Linked DNA regions of Homo sapiens: region 1 is linked to region 2. The links are contacts of gene promoters, found by promoter capture Hi-C in human tissues and cell types (Jung and others, 2019). All regions are on one chromosome and are shown on one strand. Each heading gives the region's core, a stretch centred on a gene start or on the middle of the fragment in contact. The rest is flanking DNA. Distances are from core to core; before and after follow the strand shown. Region 1 holds the start of EPX (eosinophil peroxidase). Region 2 has its middle 3.6 kb from the start of MRPS23.

Region 1 (4,229 bases), core at 146-2,645, 340 kb before region 2:
ACCTCCCAAACCCTCAGCCCCAACTCACAAGAGGGAGAAGGAAGCCATTGCGCCTCCTGCTGGGGGTCCAGCCGAAGGGGAGCGACAGCCCATCCTCATACTCGGCGGGCAGCCAGCGAGCCAGAGCCTGGTTGGAGGCCCCTAGCAAGGGTCTCCTCCTGCAGCCATGGGTGGGATAGGTTAGCAGGGGGCAGGGCCTGGAGATGGCTCAGCATGGAGGGAGAGGGTGGGTGCAGGAAGGGAGAGGTCCCCCAGGCAGGGGCAGCCCCTCCTGCCGCCCCGCACGCACTTGTTGTTGCACCGTCCAGTGATGGTGCGGTACTTGTCGCTGCAGCGCTCGGCCTGGTCCCGGAGAGCACAGCCACTGGCCTGGGACAGCAGCCGCAGCTGTGGTTCTGTTAGCACATCTGTGGGAAGGCAAATGGGCAGACCTGAGCTGGCCTGCTCTGTACCTCCCATCCCTTTACCCTCTCTCCTCCCAGCACCCCAAACCTGTGCACCCTGCCTCCCTCTCCTGGATTCCTTCTACTCCAGGCCAGGGTAGGCCCAGCGGGCTCAGTGGGGATCAGAGTACCAGTGACATTGAAGGGTCCGGACCGCTGGGGTTGTAACTTCTCTTCAAGCAGCCCCAAAGCCACATGCATATAATCTGCGGCCCGAACAACTGTCCTGGTGGCTGCTACCGGTTGTTTGAAGTAGGACAGGAGGTCCATGGGGCTGGCTGAACCGCTGCGAAGCCGCTGCTTGATGCTGCCCAGGAGAGGAGGAGTGAGGGCTGGAGAGAGGGTGCAGACCCACCCAGCAGAGACCCAGTCCTGGGGCACAGTCAGGACAGGGCAAGCGGACAGAAGGATGGATGGAAGGGAGGCTCTACCAACAGGAAATGTTCATGGGGTCCAGAGGTGGCTGATGAGTGAGATGAACTTGGCTGGGGCCCATGCCCCTCACTGATCCTCCCAGGCCCATGCAGCCCCCAGACCCAAGTCCACCTCTTCTGGGTCCAATTGTAGGCAGCATCCACCAGCAACTTGGCCTCTGCTATGCAGTCTCGCAGGACCGAGGTCTCCACTGCCCCAGGGGAGGCTGTTCAAAGAGATGGGGACTCAGGGTTCAGCAAGCCACAAGACCCCCTCCAAGACCCAAGTGCTTCCCCTTCCATTTCCCCTCCCTCCTCCTTGCCTGTCTAGGGGACTATTACCTGGGTCAGTGCCCTCACAGGGCTGGGCGAGGACGAGTGTGGCCAGGACCCCTGCCAGGGCTGGGAGCAGATGCATCTCTGCAGCGAGGCTTCACCAGCTGGGAAGTGAGTGACATCCACAGCCTGCACGGGAGGATCCTCTGCTCCCCTCTCACTTTGAGGACCCCCAGCCGACCTCTCACTTCCTCCAGCTCTTCTCTGGACGTAGCTGGGAAGGGACTTTTATAGCCCATTCTAGGGTGGGGGAGGGCAGCTCTGGGCCCTAGAAACCCAGCCTCTTGGGTGGAGTTCTGAAACTTCTCTCTGGTTTTCATGGGAGTTTTGAGACTGAAACCCCCCACCCCACCTCCTACCAGCCTGGGGACATTCTTCCTGCCTACCCTTCACTCCATCCCTACCCTCTACTACCAAGCCCACTGATGCACTTCTCCCAGGGCCCAGAGCAGCACCTGGGACACAGGTGTCGCTCAATGGATATTTGTTGGCTGACAGGAGCGGTGCACCTCAGTCGCCACCGCCTGGCTGCATGGCCTTGGGCAAGCCACTTTCCCTCTCCAGGCCTCAGTTTTCACATCCCTAGAATGAGAGTTGGGCCAGATGATTGGAAGGGTGCCTCTCCTCCTGCAACAGGGCAGAAACTGAATCTGCCTTACTGTTATACACACCCCCCATACCCAGCTCAAAGCCCAGCATTTAGTATGTGCTTAGCAGGTGTTTGTTGAGTGAATGAATGATCTGTGATGAATGATTTGGCCCCTCTCCTTATCCCCTAGCCCTACTCACTCCCTCCAAGGTGCCAGGGAGAGTGTGAGGCTGTGACTGAGGCAGGGCCTGGCAGTGAAATCCCTCATGGGGCCATTTTGGGGACATGGCGAGATGTCACAGGTAAAACACCCAGCCCAGTGAGCTGCTGCAGAGCCTAAAAGTAAGCGCCCGCCATGGGCTTTATTCTCTTGGAGTTTCTTAGGTGCCAATCAGTAGTAGGTTTACTCTGAGAAGTAGATTTCAATTATGAGTTCCTATTGGGCTTGGTGAGAAGTAGCTTCTTTAGAGGCAGTGTGCTGCACCAGGGTCTGATTGGCCTGGATTGAATCCAGCCCTGTCACTAGCTTCGTGACCTTGGGTGAGCCTCCATTTCCACCTTAAGTGCGCCTCCATTTCCACCTTAAGTGCAGAGTGCATCCCAGTCGGCCTTCTGCCAGGGCCCACCCTCTCTGCACCTAAGCCTTCCTCCTGTAGTTCCCTGCCCTGGATGAGCCAGGTTCATCCTTTGCCTCTGACCTCATCCCGGCTGCCTGGAGAGCACATGCTCATCCCTGAGACAGTTCCAGAGTCACCACCACTGTGGCCAGCAGCCTGCGTGTCCTCGCCCCTTCTTCAGGAGGACACGTCCATTCCTTCTTCAGTGTGGACCCCGTGCCTGCTCCAGACTCCCAGGGAGGCTGTTCCAAGTGTCCTTTCTCCTCCCCCACCCCCACACCCTACCGAAACCCTGCCCGGTGCCTTCCACAGCCTCCTCCTCCCACAGCAATGTTACCAGCCCAACCGTTGCTCTTGAAACAACCACCTCTCTTCGGCAACCCCTTTCACAAGCTCCAGTTGATGGCCTGAGCCCTCCTAATCTTATCTCCTTATCTTTAGCGGAGGCCCCTCTCCTGTGACGGGGGGCCTGGGTAGAAGTCACTGTGTAGGAGCTGAAAGCACACTGGGTTCCTTGATGCTGACCCACTGAGTGACTGGGTAAATCACACCCCTCCATGGACCTGTTTCCAAACCTGTGAGATGGGGACAGGGAGCCTCATGGAGGAGAGAGATTATATAAATCACACAGCACTCCTCAGCTGTGTGTCACCTCCCGGCCCTCAGGGAGCCAGGTGCTCCCCGGGTGGAGCCAGGTGGAATGCATGTACCCCAGGTTGGAGCTGGATGGGGTGTATGTACCACAGCTTGGAGCCAGGGTGGGGTGTATATAACCCAGGTTGGAGTTGGAGTAGGGTGTATGTACCCTAGGTTGGAGCCAGGGTGGGGTGTATGTACCATAGCTTGGAGCCAGAGTAGGGTGTATGTAACCCAGGTTGGAGTTGGGGTGGGCTGTATGTACCCTAGGTTGGAGGCAGGGTGGGGTGCATGTACCCCAGGTTGGAGTTGGGGTGGGGTGTATGTAACCCAGGATAGAATTGGGGTGGGATGTATGTACCCCAGGTTGGAGTTGGAGTGGGGTGTATATACCCCAGGTAGGAGTCGGGGTGGGGCGTATGTACCCCTGGTTGGAGTTGGGGTGGGATGTATGTACTCCAGGTTGGAGCTGGGGTATGGTGTATGTAACCCAGGATAGAATTGGAGTGGGATGTATGTACCGCAGGTTGGAGCTGGGATGGGATGCATATACTCCAGGTTGGAGTTGGGGTGGGGTGTATGTAACCCAGGTTGGAGCCAGGATGGGGTGCATGTATCCTGGATTGCTGTACTTCCAGGGTCCCCAGCACTCAGAGTGAGCTCTGCTCTCCCTGCAGAGGGTACTCTAGTTCTTCAACAATAGTGAGCAGTGCAAGGGTTTCTCCACAGCCATGGGCTGCCGTGGGTTATTGGGACAAGCCTGAGACAGAAACCTAGGCTCTAAGCCCAGCCCTGCCATGGTGGCTGATCTCTTGGGGATTTGGACCTATTGGTTGCTCGGGGTGGTGATGAGAGCCTGCTGCCTGGCTCTCCTGGACTCTGGCTCTGGATGTCTCCTTAGCCTACTTTCTGCCACGTTTCCCCCACAGGACCCTGCCCCTAGGCTCCAATCATCCTAACCTTCCACATATAACCCCCACCTTTTCTCTCCTTCCAAGCAGCTCCTAATTCTGCCGGAAGCTTCCTCTTCCTAGCAGGTCCCTCTGGGAAGCCATTTCTGAGTCACCCCACAAGCTGGGCTTGGTGCCATAGCCACAGCACTTAGCAGGCGGGAGCTCCTTGAGAGCAGTACAGGGAGGTGGCTACAAGCTGAACTTGGTCCCCATTCTAGCACCGTCATCCACTTGGGCAGGCT
Region 2 (3,888 bases), core at 2-2,501:
CACAGACATAGCCCTGAAAGAGATAAGCATAGGAAGGGAGGGAGCAGGTCTGGGCACTCACCCGATCTTACCGAGTGTGTGCTGGGGGCTGAAAAGCTTTTCCACCTGAACTGATTCTTGACAGTTCCTTGAAGCCTAGGAAGGGGGTCTGAAGGGGAGCTCTCAGGAGAGGGGCACAAGCCCAACAGCCGGAAGGAAAGAGAAGGTACTCTGACTCCCCCCCCCCTTTTTTTTTTTTTTTGAGATGGAGTCTTGCTCTGTCGCCCCAACTGGAATGCAGTGGCACGATCTCAGTTCACTGCAACCTCCGCCTCCTGGGTTCAAGCAATTCTCTTGGCTCAGCCTTCCAAGTAGCGAGTAGCTAGGATTGTAGGTGCCAACCACCATGCCTGGCTAATTTTTAAATTTGTAGTAGAGACGGGGTTTCATCACGTTGGCCAGGCTGGTCTCGAACTCCTGACCTCAAGTGATCCACCCACCCCGGCCTTCCAAAGTGCTGGGATTACAGGCGTGAGCAGCTGTGCCTGGCTGCCTCCTCCTTTAATAGCCCTCCCTGCCCTTCATCCTCCTGGTCCTCAGACTCAGGAAGCCTACAATTCTTTTTTTTTTAACGGATCCTGATATAATCCTCTCTCTCTTTTTTTAGAGAAAAGGGCTCACTTTGTCACACAGGTTGGGGTGCAGTGGCACGATCATAGTTCACTGCAGCTGCGAACTCCTGGGCGCAAGCAATCTTCTTGTCTCAGCCTCATGAGTAGCTAGCACTACCAGCTTGTGCCACTGCACTGGCTAACTTTTTTCTTTCTCTTCTTTTCTTCTTCTTTTTTTTTTTTTTTTTTTTTTTTTTTTTGTAGAGACAAGGTCTCGCTATGTTGGCCAGGCTAGTCTCAAACTCCTGGCCTCAAGTCATCCTCCCGCCTTGGCCTCCCAAAGTGCTGGGATTACAGACATGATCCTCCACAGCTGGCCTGACATAATTCTTAAACTGTGTATTGAATATACTGTATTGCTTTCCTCCCTTTAAAGCTAATTGCTCCCTGATTTTAGCTGTCATAGGTGAGTAGCAGCATTCATGATTTCATCAGTGTGCTGGGAGTTTCACTTACCAAAGCTGTTCCACTACTGGGGATGATGCTCTTCCTCATTTTGTCTGACAAATTCCCACACAATATTTATTTATTTATTTTTGAGACGGAGTCTTGCTCTGTTACTCAGGGTGGAGTGCAGTGGTGCAATCTCAGCTCACTGCAACCTCCGCTTCCTGGGTTCAAGTGATTCTCCTGCCTCAGCCTCCCAAGTAGCTGGGATTACAGGTGTGTGCCATGACACCCGCCTAATTTTTTTTATTTTTTATTTTTTATTTTATTTTTAGTAGAGACGAGGTTTCGCCATGTTGGCCAGGCTGGTCTCGAACTCCTGACCTCAAGTGGTCCACCCGCCTTGGCCTCCCAAAGTGTTGGGATTACAGGCATGAGCCATCACGCCTGACCTCCACGCACTATTTAAATACGGGCATTGTCACAAAGATGTGGGCAGAGTGATGGGAAGCCACAAGGGATGGCCTAGACCCCGTGGCTAATAACAGAGGGGTACAGCTTGCCAACTACGTCTAGGCTTGAAGGAGCAGGAGAGGGACGGTGGCTGGAACCTGGTGAGAGAGCTGTGATTTTATGTTCTAGAACTTTATGTTCCAGGAGGGAGCCCGCTGGCAGTACCAACTGGAATCCAGCCAGAAGCAGAGGGCAAGGAGCTGGTGGATGCAGGCCACAGAAGCCAGCCTCCCGAGGCACAGAACAGGGCGAAGGACGGCAGAGAGTGGGTGTGGAACTGCTTGGGCAAATGGGAACTATTCAGCACTTACTGATCTATGTTAGGGGCTGAGCTGTGTCTCCCCAAAAATCATATGTTGAGGTCCTAACTCCAGTACCTCAGAATGTGACTATAATAGGAGGTAGTCTTTAAAGAGGTAATTAAGTTAAAATGAAGTCAGTAGGGTGGGCCCTAATCCAATAAGACTGGTGTCCTCATAAGAAGAGATTAGGACAAAACCTTCCCACACAGAGGAAAGACCATGTGAAGACGTGGGAGAAGAAAGCTGTCTCCAAGGCAAGGAGAAACTAGCCAAGTGCAGAATAAACTAAACTTGCAGACACCTTGATCTTGGACTTCTGGCCTCCAGAATAGGGAGAAAATAAATCTGTGTTTAAGCCACCCACTTTGTGTGCAAGTGGTGTTAGGGCAGGCCTAGCAAACTTCATACAATCAACAAGCTATTCAGCACATAACTTAATATTTATGTATTTACCTCTCTGTCTTCCCTACTGGACCGTTGGATTCTCTAAGACTCAGAATAGTCAGGTAGGTGTTTATATGCTTCTGGAACGAACGGATCATCTAACAAGAAAGTAAAACAGTAAGGCAATCTATGAAATATTATCAAAATGCTGCAGTCCAGGTGGCAATGGGTGGATGACACAGCACAACAGCAATCGTGTTGCTGTTACAGCCATCAGGCTTGTTGCTGCTCACAGGCACTCACTATGTCCCAGGTGCCGTGATTAGTGCTTTACATGAATGATCTCTTTTACTTTTGCAACAAGCCACGAAGATAGTTGACACTGCCATCCAGATTATTATTATTATTATTATTATTATTATTATTATTATTTGAGACAGGGTCTTGGCTCTGTTGACCAGGCTGGAGTGCAGTGGTGTGATCATGGCTCACTGCAGCCTTGAACTCCTGGGCTCAGGCCATCCTCCCACCTCAGTCCCCTGAGTAGCTGGGATTACAGGCATGCACCACCACACCTGGCTAATTTTGCCCAGGCTGGTTTTGATCTCCTGGCTTAAGCAATCCTCCCACACTGGCCTCCCAAAATGTTGGGATTACAAGCATGAGCCACTGAGCCCAGCTCCACATTTTAACAGTTGGAGAAACAGAGGCTCGAAAAGTTACATAACTTGCTCAGAGTGAAGCAATTAGTGGGCACGTCTACAATGAGACAGTGGGATTAATATGAGGCCGAGTGGTGTTGTAGGAACATGGCCTTTGGGAGTTTACAAGCACCACTTCCTTATCTGTAAGATTAGCAGGACATTACCTATGTCAGCAGGTGGTTGAACAACTGAATGAGACACTTGAGGTTCCTTGGTACCTCCCGCGGCACAGTGGTGCGTGGTGTAAGTGCCCCAGGCCCTCACAGCCTTGGGCGGCTGTGGTCCCCACTCAAGAAGACAGCCTCAAATGTCCATTCTGCCTGCCCCCTGCTGCCCGACAGCTTGCTCCTGTATTATGAATGAATGTTTCTTGGGTGTGTACTTCTTGTGTAGCCTCAGAAGGCTGTTATCCCCAAAGTACCCCCAAGTCTGCCCACCAATATTCTGCTCTCAGTCACAGAAGCAGGCTGGAAAGGGAAACTTCAAAGGCTTGGAAGAGGAAGGGACCACCCCAAGATTAGCGAGAACATTTCTGCCTTGCAGTTCTTCCCCTATTGAGGGTTTGCGTCTTTGGTTCCCCTCCTTGATCTTGGAATAAACCCTTTAACTCTTTAGCTGCAGTGACTGCACTAACCTACAGTAGCAGTTCCTGGTGGGAGAAGAGAAGTGTGCCTGTAATCTGGGCTGGCAGATAGTGCTTGCTGGCTGGGACAGAATTAGAAAGTTGTTATGAGGCCTGGGAAGACTATATTTAGCTGGGAGCATGTTTACTCTCCCCAGAGCAAGGTCTTTTAGACCTCCTGAGGGCTGGGATACTAGAGCCTTTACACCTGGCCTGGGGCCAGAGCTGTGCTCTCTCTTCTCTGTTCCAGAGGGTCTGGAGGCAGCAGTGAAATCCACCTCAGGTTAGCCCTGGGCCTCAAATCACTGGATCCCTGGCGTGCGTGT

Evidence for each region. Contacts are between HindIII fragments. The study calls those that stand out against the background at their distance.
Region 1: the fragment with the promoter of EPX here is called in contact with a fragment that was not itself captured in region 2 in 1 of the 25 tissues and cell types used here (spleen).

The regions. Positions count from the first base shown.
Region 1 is chr17:58,189,892-58,194,120 of GRCh38, reverse strand. EPX (eosinophil peroxidase) reads right to left here and starts at 1,395. Exons shown (of 13, transcript NM_000502.6): 1 at 1,199-1,395; 2 at 990-1,083; 3 at 575-750; 4 at 290-407; 5 at 29-158. The coding sequence starts at 1,274. The HindIII fragment of the contact is 10,445 bases long and covers 1-4,229 here.
Region 2 is chr17:57,851,709-57,855,596 of GRCh38, reverse strand. No RefSeq gene overlaps it. Among named protein-coding and RNA genes, the nearest start is that of MRPS23, 3.6 kb to the right of the region's middle. The HindIII fragment of the contact is 4,394 bases long and covers 1-3,448 here.